Regions from separate parts of the Homo sapiens genome. Here regions 2, 3 and 4 are each linked to region 1. The links are contacts of gene promoters, found by promoter capture Hi-C in blood cells and fetal thymus (Javierre and others, 2016). All regions are on one chromosome and are shown on one strand. The core of a region is centred on a gene start or on the middle of the fragment in contact, and the rest is flanking DNA. Distances in the headings are between cores, read along the strand shown. Region 1 holds the start of CD82-AS1 (CD82 antisense RNA 1). Region 2 overlaps TSPAN18 (tetraspanin 18). Region 3 has its middle 26 kb from the start of ALX4. Region 4 overlaps TSPAN18 (tetraspanin 18).

Region 1 (3,502 bases), core at 495-2,994:
CTCTGATCCACACTACTCTCCAGCCTTCTGGAGACGCCAGCACCCTCGCCCTCCAGGTGCGTCCCATGCCCTGGGGGTACAGTGTACCCATGCTGGTGAGTTAGAGATGACATGAGCTTTACCCTGTGTGATGGGTTGGGTGTCTTAGGAAATGTTGGCCAAGTGCCCCTGCAGGACTCCTGACCTCTACCTCCCGGAATGGGCCTGTCCACAGGTAGCTCTAAAGAGGGTCTTAGCCATCAGGCCCATTCCTGTACCTCCTAAGCATCATTTCCTCCCGGGCTTCTTTCTTGCTCTCACTGGTCCGTTCTCTCACCTTCTTTCCAATCTTCAAATAACCAAGCTCCTCCTTCCTCAGGCCTTTGCACCTGCTGTGTTCCCTGCCTGGAATGCTTTTCTTACAGATCTTTGCTTGGCTGACTTCTTCATTCATGTCTTGGCTCAAATGTCACTGGCTCAGGCTGGCCTTCGTCGACCCATTCTGACCCTCTCCCAGCCCAGCAGTTCTCTGCAGTTAGCCAGCTTTGGTATCTTCATGGCGCCCAACACAACCAGAAAACCTGTATTGTGTACTTTTTGTCTCCACTCCCCACCCCCAAATGTCAGACCTTGTTAGTCACTCTTCTGCATCCCCAGCAACTGGCACAGTGCCTGGCATGAAGTGGGCACCCAGTAAACATTTCTTGGCCGAATGAACATGCAGCACACCTGTAGCAATACATGTGCCCCGTGCATCAGTGGAAAGAGTGTGGCACTGGAGATTTGCATATTTTCAAATTCCAGCTCAGGCCCTTGCCTGTTCGCCTTTCTGAGCCTCATTTTTTTCTTCTGTGAAATGGCCATGCTAGTGCCTGCCAGGCAGGGTGATGTCAGAGTTGGAGACGGCGTGTGGAAAGCCCATGAGGCACAGTGAGTGGGCAAGAAAGGCTGGTGTTTGTTATTATATGGACAAGAAGGAAGGCGGGTTAAAAATCAGCTTGGAATCTTAATGTCAGTGGCCCCTGGAGAACCAGCCAGCCTCTTGTCTGTCAATTCCGCAGATATTCACTGTGCACAGCACCTCACTGCGAGAGGCGCTGTTCGAGCTGGGGGTTCCCCAGGAATAAAGTGAAGCTTCTGCCCTCATGCACCTCAGGTCCTTGGTGGAGGGGGAGAGCAGACAATGAGCAAGAAGAATCAGTGAAATGTAGTCTATTCAATCCTGAGAAGCCTTACGAAGTAAAAAATAAAGCCGGGAAGGGGCTTAGGCTGGATGAGGGTGTGGATTGCAATTTTACTGGGGGAGGGACACAAGTGGGGATGGGGGTGACCTGGTTCCCTGTTGGGCAGTGAGAAGCCAGCAGGGGAATGCAGCTGACCCCAACACCCTGGCTCCAAAGAGGGGATCCGGAAGAAGACCTGGACGGTTAGGCCAGGTGTTTATACCTGCTGTGCCCACTGATTTTGTACTTCTTCTTCCCCCTAGAAACCTCCTCCAGCTCGCTTAGGATGGGGGCCTATGTCTTCATCGGCGTGGGGGCAGTCACTATGCTCATGGGCTTCCTGGGCTGCATCGGCGCCGTCAACGAGGTCCGCTGCCTGCTGGGGCTGGTGAGTACGGATCCCTCCGCAGCTGCCTGCCCATTTCCTCTCATCCAGCCGAGTGCAGCCTGACCGCGGCGCTGGCCGTAACATCGGGTGGAGAGCATCTCTCGGGGCACGCAGGCTGGGTGCACCTGGTCGGGGACCCTCAGCTGACTTTGTGCCTGCTCTGTGTCCCCAGTACTTTGCTTTCCTGCTCCTGATCCTCATTGCCCAGGTGACGGCCGGGGCCCTCTTCTACTTCAACATGGGCAAGGTAAGCCCCTCTCTCCCTCCCTCTTCACTGGGCTGGACCAACCATGGGGGTGATTGACTGAGTGTGGGGGATGGACAAGGAACCCCCCCAGTTGTCACAGACAGATCCAGTAGGTGTCAGGGACGGCCTCCTGGACACTATTCCTTGTGATCAAATGGGGGAGCGTTAGAAGAGAAGGCGGCAGGTGTGGGCAGTCCCCGCTGGGCCTGGATCTTAGCCTGACCCCCCTGCTTTCTAGCTGTGTGGCCTTGGGCAAGCTGCTTGCCTCTATGTGCCTGTTCCACCATCTGTAAAATGGAAACAATAAGAAAACTGAACTCTCAGAGTGGTTGCAAAGATTATTCGAGATTATCTGAGTGAAACACATAGCGCATGGCACCATAAGTACTCAATAAATGTTATTCTTGTTATTATTAAGATACTTTAGCAACTATTAAATCCATGCCACTCACCCACAAATGAGGTTTAGAAGGAGACCGTTAATAAAAACATCAGTCTTGTGTCCGAGGGGAGATGTTCAGCTTTCAGAAACAGAAAATCAGACTTACAGCGGCTTAAAGTTGAAGGACATCTGTGGTTGACTTGACCGGAAGTCTGGTTTGGAAGCTCAGAGGCCCTGGTTCTGGCTGTTGAGCATCCTCGCTGGGATGGCTTTCCTGCATTATGACACTTACCTCGTGGTTCCAAGATGGCTGCCACAGCACCAGGCACGATGTCTGTGCCGCTGTGGCCTGAAGATGGGGAAGTGGGCAGTGCCAGACATGGCCATCCCTTTTATCAGAAAAGGCGCAGTGGCTCATGACTGTAATCCCAATACTTAGGGAGGCAGAGGTGGGAGGATTGCTCTGAGACTAGCCTGGGCAACATGGTGAGACCCCATTTCTACAAACAAATTTTTAAAAATGCTAGCCATGGTGGTGTTCACCTGTGGTCCCAGCTACTCAGGAGGCTGAGGCAGGAGGATCCTTGAGGCCAGGAGGTTGAGGCTACAGGGAGCCATGAAACAGAGCTTGGGGCAACAGAGTGAGACCCTGTCTCAAAAAAAAAAAAAAAAAAAAGTCCTCCAACAGACTTCCCCAGACTGGGTTACAAAGCCACCCCTGGTTGCAAAAGAGGCTGAGAATGTGAGTATCCAACTTTCAGACTCTAAAGACAGAGGCACAAGAGAGAAAGGAGCCAAGAATGGCTGTTGGGTGAGCCAGTTAATTGTGAGTCACAGTTATCACGTAAGAAGCACCTACTGTGTGCACGTGGGATCTTCTAGAAACTTTCCATACAGCGTCTTGTCCTCACAATGGCTCTGCAGGGTTTTATGTTGACAGATGGAGAAGCAGATGCTCTGAGATGAAGAGCAATAACAACATAGATAACAGTGACTCTAACACCCACCATCCCTCCAGTTGAGTCCATGCACAGCATATACCAAGTACAGTGTTGACCACGTTACACTCCTCCTCTCGCAGATCCTCACTAGGCCCTCTCAAGGTCGTGGGAGAATCCCCGTCCTGCAGATGAAGGAGTAAGGACAGCCTAGGCTCCCTGACTCCGAGTCCTGAGTTCACCCGTCCCCAGACCCTGCTGCACATGGCCTGTGGCCTAGCAGACCCTTAGGGTCCCTGCTTCCAGTGCCACCAGTTCTTGTCCACCAGGGAGGGTGGCAGAGCC
Region 2 (3,502 bases), core at 484-2,983, 290 kb after region 1:
TGATATGCTGGTGATGTAAGTTACACAAGAGCTGGATCTAAGTCAGCACTTACACAAACAGTAGTGTCAGAAGTTTACCTGAAGTTCCCTTGAAATCCTTTGTCTTAGTGTGTTTTCTGTTGCTATGACTGAACACCTGAGACTGGATAATTTATAAAGAAAAGGCATTTATTTCTTACAGTTCTGGAGGCTGGGAAGCCCAAGGTCAAGCAGCTGCACCTGATGAAGGCCATCTTGCTGCCGGGGGACTCTTTGCAGAGTTCTAAGGCGGTGCAGGGCATCACATGGCGAGGGGGCTGAGAATGCCAAAGTGGCTTTTATAACAGACCCACTCTCAGGATGACCAACCCACTCCTGTGATAACCCATTAATCCATGAGTGGATTGATCCAGTCATGAGGGCAGAACCCTTGAGATCCGATCACCTCTTAAAGGCCCCACCTCTTCATTATGTTACATCTGGTATTAAGTTTCAATATGACTTTTGAATGTGTGTCACATTCAAACCATAGCATCCTTAAACACCTGGTTTTGTTTTACACGAAACAGTTGGCTGCATCTGAGGGTCATGTTGTATTAGACACCCATCTGTAAGCACAGGACCTTCCCATGGCCAGATGAGGGTTGCTGTGACAGGCACATGAACCTTCAGACCACAGGATCCACAGAGCAGATCCTGAGGCAGACGTCACATGGAAGGACAGGGAGACCACAGCACCTAAACTGCTCTCCAGTGCTTTCCGGGTACAAACAGGGAGTGGAATTCCCACTAAGTCAAGCTTGCCTCTGATGCTGACTCCTGCATTTCATCCCTCTGAGCCCCAGGATTTAAAGAATTTTATGCACCAAATAGCATGTTCGTTTTTGTTCTGCAAAGTCATACAGACATGGTGGCCAGATATTCTGAACAACCCAATAAACAAGGTCCCCACCTGGGGGTAGTCTAATTGCTCCAAAACCCAAGACACTTGCCCCTTGAGTCAGCCCATGGTGAGAGGTTGATGTCTGAGATGTTATTTGAAATATTGAAAATAACTTTAGGATGTTGCTAGTCTCAGGAACCCAGTTTGAGCACCATTGAACACAGTCACTCTCCCTGCTTCAAAATCCTCCACCCCAGAGTCCTCCCCTCTCCTGAGGCTGAAGCTGATGTGCCTGGTGTCTAGGAGAGCAGCTGGGAGGAGCCACCTTGTGGCGGGGCAGGAGGGAGGAACAGAGCCCAGAGCCAGGATGGAGCCACCATGTGTCAAGTGCTGTATGAGGGACTGTACCTCTATGATACCATTTCATGCTCAGCACAATTTCTAGAGGAAGTCAGCATTCCTGTCCCCATTTTGCAGGCATGAAAGCAAAGGCCTGGAAAGGTTATGTAGTTCACCCATAGTCATGAGGCAAGAAAGTGATAGGCCGGGTCCCACCTGACCCTACAGGCCCCACCCACACTGCTACTCTCCCTTCAGGGACCCTTTAGCTCAGGGAAATTGGGAGACTTTGATGGGCCTCCCACCACTGGCCCCAGGGAGGGCATCATGTCCCACAGCAGACAGGCCCACCATCTCCTTTCTAAGTGCCGCTTTTTTGAGCAATAACAAAGCTCTTGGACCTCATAGTCTCAATTTTCTTCTCGCCCCACCCTCCAGAGATTCTCCATGGTTTCCCTCCCTTTAGAAGTAAGTTAGGAAACTGTGCCGTGAAGTTAACTTCTAGAAGTCATCCATGGATGGGTGGAGCTAACAGCCAGGCAGGGATTGGAGGTCCCATGTGTCTGTCACTCTAGTCTGACCAATTGGCTGTGGAGGTGTGTCCCCACATTCAGTAGGCCTCTATAGGGGATGGAGCAGGCAAGCCCTGGTCTCTAGGCTTCAGCCTGGCGGTGGGTGATGGCCTGGGAGGCTGTCCCTGCTGGAGAATAATGGGAGATCAAATGGCATAGGTGGTGTGAAGACAGGTCTGCACTTTGGAGGAGGATGGATGAATGGGGCAAGGGAATTCTCATTCATTGAGAATGCTGATTAGGAGTTGTGGCCCCAGATTAAGACAGGCGTGGGTTCAAATTCTGGCTCAGGCACTTCTGTACTGTGTGACCTTAGACAAGTGATTCCACCTCTCCGAGCCTCAGTTCCCTCCTCTGAAAAATAGAATGACATTACCTACTTCCCAGAGCTTTACAAGGATTCAATGAAATTGTGTGTGTTCCCTGGCACATAGTAAGAACTCAGTGTATGCCAGTGGTTACTATTATTAGCTACCATGTGCCAAGCCCTGTGCTCAGTATTTTCCATACAACTTGAGGAAGGCTTTTTTTTTTTTTTTTTTTTTTTTTTTTTTTGAGATGGAATTTCACTCTTGTTGCCCAGGCTGAGTGCAATGGCATGATCTCGGCTCACTGCCACCTCTTCCTCCTGGGTTCAAGCAATTCTCCTGCCTCAGCCTCCCGAGTTGCTGGGATTACAGGTTCCTGCCACCACCCCCAGCTAATTTTTGTTATTTTTAGTAGAGACAGGGTTTTGCCATGTTGGCCAAGTTGGTCTCAAACTCCTGACCTCAGGTGATCTGCCCGCCTCAGCCTCCCAAAGTGCTGGGATTACAAGCGTGAGCCACCGCGCCCGGCCGAGGAAGGCATTGTTTTTATCCTGACTTTACAGAGAAGGAATTCAGTTGTATGCAGTTTAGTAACTTGCCCCACCAGCTAAGCTTGGCAGAGCTGGGACACAATCCCCTGTTGGGCACCAAAGCCCTCTTTTTACTCATCCACCCTGCTCTGAAACTGGAACCCGGGCCTCCATATTCTTCACCGGCCCCCAGGCTCACATCATCTATTTTCCTACCTGACTCACCTTTGAGGTTGTGGGAGGCTCTTCCCAGGAGACATGTCTCCTTTGATTGCATTTGTCTGGGAGCCCAGCACTCCGCAAGCCCGGGCCATGAGATGTAATCTGCAATGAATGTGGTACACAATAAATACAGGTAGTCCGTTTATGAGCTGCCATATTTATTACACCCCTTAATTGCTAAAGAGCCAGAGCCGGCTGAAGCTGGATCCTACCCTGGAGAGAAGCTCTGCCTGGGTGGGCAGAGGGAGGGATGGCAGAGCCTGGCCTCCTGCACAGGACTACTCAGCCTCTCGCTGTTGTGGCTGCTCTGCCTCCAAAGGCCCATTCATCCAAGTCAGGGCCTGGCAGAGGAAACAGTCAGGCCATCAGATTCCTGCTCTGCCATTTGACACAAGAAGGCACTGAGGCCAGAGACAGAAAGTGATTTGCCCAAGGTCACACAACAGTGACTTACAGAGCAGAAGCCTGGGCTCCAGACTCCTAGGCCAGTGCTCCTTGTGCCCAACTCTCTGCTTGAACATCTGCTCCTGGATCAGGTAGAGCACAGGATGTGGAGTTGGGTGAGTGGTGTTTTTGAAGCCCAGTCTGTGCATACAAGCTGTGTGATACTGGCCAGGTTACTTGACCCCTCTGAGCTTCAGTGTCCTCTTCTGTAAAATGGGCATAGTA
Region 3 (3,502 bases), core at 396-2,895, 270 kb before region 1:
ATAGTTGCTGTAATGCTTTAGACAAAGCCTATGAAGCACTGTGTGCAGAGCCGGGCTTGGGAAGCATGAAATAAATGTCAGCTGGTACAGCAACAATTGCCATCTTTAACAGGGCAGCCTTTCTGGGGTGACGGAGGTGTGGGGAGCAGTGTGTCTGAGTGGTGTGTGCCACCTATGCCTCTGCTCTGGAAATACCAGGCCCAGGGGAGGTATCGGCCCAGTGTCTGCCTTGCTGAGCCCTGCAGCAGAGACTTCTTCTCATGCACACACACACTGCTTCCTCCAGTCTCTGTCCTTTGGGCTGGCTGCCTGTCTGTACCCTGGCAAGGGCAAAGAGGCCCAGCCAGGGGCCCCCTGGACCCAGGCAGCTCACCCGAAACAGGCCAAGGACTCGCTGTCCTGGGAGGGGGACCAGCCCTCGGCTGCAGCTGCTCCTCCTGGGAGGGGCAGGCAGGAGCTCCCCACAGTCTCTCAGCACAGCTTGGGGTCAGTACCCAGAAGGGCATGACCTCAAAGACCTTCAGGGACCCCTCAGAGCTGCTCCTCCTGTTCCTCATTCTTCTGTAAATGAGCCAGGTCCTGGGGAAATGGGGCTCCAGCTGGAGGCCTGGTCCCCTGACCCCAATTACTTCTGGCTGGGGGTGGGGCAGTGGTTGTCCGTCCTCTTGAAGCTTCTCTCTTCCTTCCACCCCCATCCAGGGCCGCTTTTCCAGATTTTTCCCTTTCCCACACTCTTTCCCGAATGGTCCTTCACACACCCAGTTCTTCTTAAAGGGGCTCTAAGAAGAACACATTTTCTATGAACAGAACAATGCCCTATTAATCTTACAAGGGATTTGAACTTGGCAACATTTCAGCCTTTGATTTAAATATCATTTTGGTAATGGGGAAGGATAAAGAAGGCTGACTCTTGGTAAGGAGTTTCCAATACCTTCTGAGCATGAGACGATTTTGAATATAAAATTAAACCCAACTCTCTCCTCCCTTTTCTCCCTTCCTCCCTCTCTCTCTCCCTCCTGCTTTCACTCACACAAAAGCTCACTTCCCACATACTTCATGGGGATATTTCAAGTTAAAGTTTTGTTTACCTTATAGAAAAGTTAATTAGTTCCTTTTGATCTCACAGGGAAAACCACACAGGAAATTTTTCTTCAGAAAGTGTACACACGAAGGCAGGCTTTACCCTCATAACCAGAAATATTCATTAAAACAATTCGTTTCGATTTTTAATTTAAAGAAAACATTTTACATTTTCCCTATTTATTATTAAGAAAGTAGTTATCCCCAGGGCAGGGCGTTGAGGGAGTCGGAGGCAGTGTTTTCGCTGTGCTGGCAGCCAGCGTTGGGCAGTTCGTAATCCGTCCCTAGTTTGTTTTTTCTGCTTTGGATAACAAGAGACTTCTGCAGAGAGACAAACCTTCAAACATGCCAGATTTCAATCGCCAAAATATTAAAAATCCAGGGTTTTGGAGATTGAGGCTGTATGGTTTAAATAAAGATATTTAAGTTTTGAAATATAAATATTCGAGATCCTGAAAAAACATACCCATTGCATTAAAATCCGAAACAGGCAGCGGGTGAATCGCGGGGAGAAAATGTTTACTTTTTTGAGGTTTATCTAATGAAATACAATAAATAGTACATCGTGCTTTATTTTATCATTATTATTATTATTATTATTATTTTTTACCCCTAGAGATAGTTAAGTAATACCTGGATTTGTACAATAAGCGGCTTAGCAAAAGTCTGGAAAGAGAAACGCTTGGATTTCCAAAATGTGATTTTCAATCTTAAGCACATTTTCCACATCTTGTGTTGTTATGGGGTAAGGGATGCCTGGGACTGCAAATTGTGGAATTCATTTCCAGCACGGATCAACCAAAAAAGAAAGAGCATGGCTTCACTGAGGTTGAAAGAATAAATTAAACGATATTGCTGATGGCGTAGCCAAAAGCTGTGGTCCCCATTACTGCGAGAAAAAAAAAAATCATACAGATATGGTATGGACAAAAAGCCTGTGGAAAAGATGTTTTTACAAAAGAAAAGCCACAAAAACATAACAGCTCTAAAGAGTGGTGTTGACATCAGTATATAATTTTGAGGGTATTTTTGGGGTATGTATCCCTTTCCTGCCCCTGACACAAATATTTGGAGATTGGGACTGTCATTGTTGATAAAAATTAAATTGATGCCGCATACAAAAGATATATAAAAAGCATGTTAACATATGGGGTGACTTTGATGATGTTCTGTACAGCAAAAGTATAAGAATCTGATGACATTTTATTGTCACCGATTCCTGTTTTAATCTGCCCTGACCACTGCCTTTAAAAATAGAACTCTTAATATAGATTCCTTTCCTCAAAGTTTTCACCTGAAGATAAATTTTCCGGTTTAAATACACTCCATTCTCCTTTTTAATTTTTCTTTCTTTTTTATTTTTGGTAAATGGTGAAGGCATGTGACAATCCATTTGTGAAGTTGGAAACAAATACAGATATTTTGAAGAAGGGTTTTAAAATGCTGACTGGAGGAGCCGATCCCTGCAAATGAACAGCCCCAGGGAAACTGGTTATTAGTACGAGTTTCCATAGTCTTTCCGTTCAAATGCAGAGCCCCAAAAGCTTTTTAAAACTGTCCTTCTATAACACATTTATTTTCATTTCCTCCCTAAGATACCTTTGATATTTTCTTCTAAAGAAGTATTTATGCTTTTTAGAGTTGAAAATGCTGTTTTTTTCTTCTTTTTTTTCCCTTGAGGGAAACAATTTAATGTGGAGTTTAAGGGGAAGAGAAACTCATTTAACAAAATGGATAGAAAACAGAAGTTTCAAATGGATACCCAATTCCCTCTTTGGATTTGCCAAATAATTACTAAAAATCAAATACTTCCCATAAGACGATGGATGCAATTCCTCCCAGATAAATAGGCATCTATTTCCACTTTTATCCAAACAAACAATTTTGTCTGTGGCTAGAAGTTTTGCAGACTGGGGTCCCTCACATCCTAAGTGCTCGCCATGGGGAACCTTCAGATTACAATAGGTATATAATATATGTGTATAAAATTGTCCTTTCCATGAAGAGGAAAACAGGGGAATTCCCACAAACTCCGAGTTCTTTCTTTAGGAGAGCAGTGGGCTAGGAGAGACTTGGGGCTCTGGGTCAACGCTTTATTGGCCTGAAGGCAAGAGTGAAGTGGGAGAAAGGAGCTTCCAGAAAGATATAATCTGAAAGGAGAAAACGCTGGCAGAGTGATAAAAAGAACAAGACAAGTAAACATTTTTCTAGTGCGCTTCCAAGTGAAAATCCACGAAACTACTACCCAGTTAGAGAAAGATAAAACAAAATTCATCCCTACCTTAGTCAGTTGAAAAGTAATGGGGAACTTGCTTCCAAAGTGGTTGTGACCTGTACAGGCTACACAGTGCTTCTTACCTTAAATCTATACGTTTTGAACAAAAACAGCTTGGAGCAATTCTCTCCAAACAACCCCAAATGT
Region 4 (3,502 bases), core at 578-3,077, 270 kb after region 1:
ACCTGCCTCGACCTCCCAAAGTGCTAGGATTACAGGCATGAGCCACTGTGCCCAGCCTCTTCCTCTTCTTATAAAGATACCAATCCTATCAGATTAAGACCCCATTCTTATGATCTGACTGAACTTCAGTTGCCTCCCTAAAGGTCCTATCTCCAATGAAGTCACGTTGGGGGTTAGGGCATCAACATATGAATTTGGGTGTATGGAAGCATAATTCAGTCCATAGCATGCACCAACCTCATAGGGTTGCCACGAGGATTCACTGAGTGAATGCATGTAAAACATCAAGTGCAGTGCCCGGCACATGCTAAGTGCTGTGCTAGTGTACGCTATCAACAGAGCACTGAGCATTATGGGAGAATCCCCTTTCCATCCTTGCTGCAAGTCTAGACCCTGTGAAAGCCTAATGAATACAGTTCACATGTTATTTAATGATAGCAGGTATCTATATTGTGCTTACTATATGCCAGACTCTGCTTTAATGCTTTACATAAGTTATTGAAGCTTCACAGCAGCCTTATGAGATCTATACTCTTAGTATCCTTATTATACAAAAGGGAACTGAGGCACAGAGAGGTGAAGCAACTTGCCCAAGGTCACACAGCCATCAAGTGCCTAGTAAGTTAATAGCACACAGTTAAATAATATTATAGTTAATATTAAGTAATATTTATTAAGTGCCACCTGCCCAGCCTGGGCACAGGGTGCCTGTGCTTCAGAGGAGATAGATCCATGACCAGGCAGTGGCAGGACTGCATGCTGAGTGTTCCGACAGGGCAGACCCAGGGAACTGTCATGGAGCCCAGGATACCTAGGGCTGTGGCACCTAGCCAGGCCTGGAGAGACACCAGGGAGGGCTTCCTGGAGGTAGGAATGTTTCAGCTGAAGTCAGGAAGAAGATGGTCGAAATGCTTGGATAAGGGGCTGGAGGTGACAGTATGTGGTTGTGGGTTGTTGGAGGACTCAGCCAAAAATTTCCATTCTAAGATATTCCAGTGGTCCCTTGGCAGCACAGGGGCCCTGCATAGCCTAGAGACCCTGGGGTGGCCCAGCACTTCGTGGCAACCTGGGGGTTCCATGTTAGTTCAGGGAATTTCATGGTGGCCCAGATTTTTTTCCAGCACTCAAGGGACCTATGTGGTCTGGGCACACCATGACAGCCCAGAGATTCTGGATAATCCCAGGAATGCCACAGCAGCTTTAGGAAGTTGCAGACATTTTGGACCCTGGGGATTCTGTGACAACCCCAGAGATTGCATGGCAGCTCCAGGGTTCTGTGGCCCTATTCTTGTGGCTGCAGAAAGAACAATATGCAAACTCATAGCAGACAAACCCCTTGACTGGGGACAAAGAAAGCAGCATGGAAGGGACTGTACCCAGTGATGCATTTTACAGGGCTTAAGTCTAAGGAGGAAATTCTAAGGAGATGTGGCTGAAAGCCCAGTCCCTCCAAGGCCTGGGGAAGCTGAGGGGTCTGCACTCCTTAGGGTTTATTTCCTTCTGGGAAGCTGAAAATGAGCCACCTCGAGGAGGTCTGTGGGGAGTGCTGTCCTGACTTGTAGGCATGTGACTTGAAGAGGACTTAGGATGTGCCTGTTACCTGGATACAGAGGCACTGGTCCTCAGAGCCCTCTGAGCAGAGCATGGGGCAGAGCCCAGAGGGAGCTGTTATCTGTGAAGGGAGCTGGCATTCCTGGACCTACAGACATGAGGATTGGCCCCTCAGGGGGCTTATATGATCTGGGCCCTCCCAGGCTGGCATAGCTAGGTTTGTTCCAGCTCTGCCTCTCCAGGCCAGCTGGGTGGCTTCACCTGTCCCCACCTTGGACCCAGCACCCGCAGCCTGGGAATGGCCCTACATCTGTTTCTTAGGGGGCTTCAGGAGTTGAGTGGGGTGGGAAAGACCCCTGTATAAAAGCATGAGGACACATTCCTGCTCCACCATGGAGCCGTGCACTCCTGGGCAAACTCCTTCACACCACTGAGCTTCAATTTCCTCATCTGTAAAAAGGAGATGGGCCTAGCACGGTATGGGACATACAGTAACCAATGTTAGTTTCACCTCCACCTCTTCCGCCTGATTCAGAGATGGCAGCCAGGTGACCTGGGCATGGGGAAAAGGGTGGGTCTCAAGTGGAGGGCCCATCTGGCCCCATAATAGTCAATGGTCTTTGTGCCTTTGCCTCTGGGCAAAACCTCCCTCTTCTACCCTTGGAAGAGCCAGAATGATCACTCCCTGTGCCAGGCACTCGATGTCATTTAGCCCTCCCTCTAACACTGTGAGATAGTACTATAGCAATCCCATTTTACAGACAAGCAAACTGAGGCACAGAGAAGGCAACTCAGCTGTCCCAAGTCACAGAGCAAGGATTCATGCCCGAGTCTATCTTGATTGCAAAGCCTGGCACTAATCACCTCTCTTCCCTGGTATCCTTCTAAAAACACCCCAGGGAGAAAGAGGAAAATGGTGAGATGGGAACCAGCCGGAGAACTAATTGCATGCTTGGTGCCTGGGTAGGGGGACATCTTTGTCCCTCAGGTCTATGGCTGGCCGGGCCTGGCAGTTCCCAGTGGGGAAGCTGTGAGGAGAGGCTGGGGCTGGGTTCCACCCAGGCTGGCTCCTGATCCATTTGAGGATCTTCCAGCCCTCAACAGCATGGAGCCTGCTGAGACCACGCTCCTCCCTTTAGCAACCCTTTTTCAGAGAATTCCACTGGAAGAGGAGGGACGGAAACAGACATAACTGGAGAGAAGGAGGGGTCCCGCAGCCCACAGACCCATTTTGCTTTTCCAACCAAGTGAGAATCAGCATTAAATTGGGGGCAGAGGGGGCAAGACCCACTTCCCCTGCTCCCCCGTAGTTACATCTTCCCCAGGGCTGGAGCAGCAGCTCCATGCAAGAGTGAGAGGCCTTGGACCAGCCCCTTGCAGAGGTACATTCTCCCCCGTGGGGCCCTCCCAGCCCATGTGGGCCTAGAACACCAGACAGCCCAACTCACAGCCAGCTTCTCTGATGCCACTGCCAAATACCAGACCATTTACCAGGCTTTTCCAGAGAGCTGGTGTCCCCAACCAGACCTCTAAGCCTGCAATTAGGCAAGCAGCAGAGGGCTTAGCTTTCTCTGGGTTGTGGGCATTTCGGTGGGAAAGATAAGCTTGGTTTGGATTAAGCTAGAGCATAAAATAATATTTATCCTCAAACAATACTCTCTGGCTGGGAGCAAGTCTGGGCCTTGGGGCTTCGGAGGCTAGGGGCTGCCGAGGGATTTACCACCTCCCTCCAGGTCACCAGGAAATCTTACCTACCGACCTTCCCTCATCCTAGCTGGTTGCACAACCCAATTCACAGTGCTTGCTCTCATTACGAAATGGAATTGAGAAGATGTTACAGCATTCAGCACGTAATTATGTGCAGAGCACTTGCCCTGTGCAAAATTATCTCATCAAATCCTTGTAACTACCTTGGGAGTCGAGCTTATTGTCCCCACATTGATCCAGACTC

What was found. The method cuts DNA at HindIII sites, captures the fragments that hold promoters and counts their contacts. A CHiCAGO score of 5 or more calls a contact.
Region 2: a fragment that was not itself captured here is called in contact with the fragment with the promoter of CD82-AS1 in region 1 in 9 of 17 cell types (total CD4 T cells, naive CD4 T cells, megakaryocytes and 6 more); the score reaches 10.7 in total CD4 T cells.
Region 3: a fragment that was not itself captured here is called in contact with the fragment with the promoter of CD82-AS1 in region 1 in 1 of 17 cell types (total B cells); the score reaches 5.1 in total B cells.
Region 4: a contact is called between a fragment that was not itself captured here and the fragment with the promoter of CD82-AS1 in region 1, in 1 of 17 cell types (megakaryocytes). The highest score is 5.4, in megakaryocytes.

The regions. Positions count from the first base shown.
Region 1 is chr11:44,603,593-44,607,094 of GRCh38, forward strand. CD82-AS1 (CD82 antisense RNA 1) reads right to left here and starts at 1,745. Exons shown (of 2, transcript NR_182290.1): 1 at 1,426-1,745; 2 at 916-1,138. It overlaps CD82 (CD82 molecule), which reads left to right. Exons shown (of 10, transcript NM_002231.4): 5 at 1,466-1,590; 6 at 1,763-1,837. The HindIII fragment of the contact is 7,514 bases long and covers 1,112-3,502 here.
Region 2 is chr11:44,898,384-44,901,885 of GRCh38, forward strand. All of the region lies in intron 3 of TSPAN18 (tetraspanin 18), which reads left to right. It overlaps LOC124902664 (a long non-coding RNA gene), which reads right to left. Exons shown (of 3, transcript XR_007062659.1): 3 at 2,755-2,935. Among named protein-coding and RNA genes, the nearest start is that of TP53I11, 51 kb to the right of the region's middle. The HindIII fragment of the contact is 1,915 bases long and covers 777-2,691 here.
Region 3 is chr11:44,334,222-44,337,723 of GRCh38, forward strand. No RefSeq gene overlaps it. Among named protein-coding and RNA genes, the nearest start is that of ALX4, 26 kb to the left of the region's middle. RefSeq lists an enhancer at 352-920. The HindIII fragment of the contact is 1,953 bases long and covers 670-2,622 here.
Region 4 is chr11:44,872,174-44,875,675 of GRCh38, forward strand. All of the region lies in intron 3 of TSPAN18 (tetraspanin 18), which reads left to right. Among named protein-coding and RNA genes, the nearest start is that of TP53I11, 77 kb to the right of the region's middle. The HindIII fragment of the contact is 2,651 bases long and covers 503-3,153 here.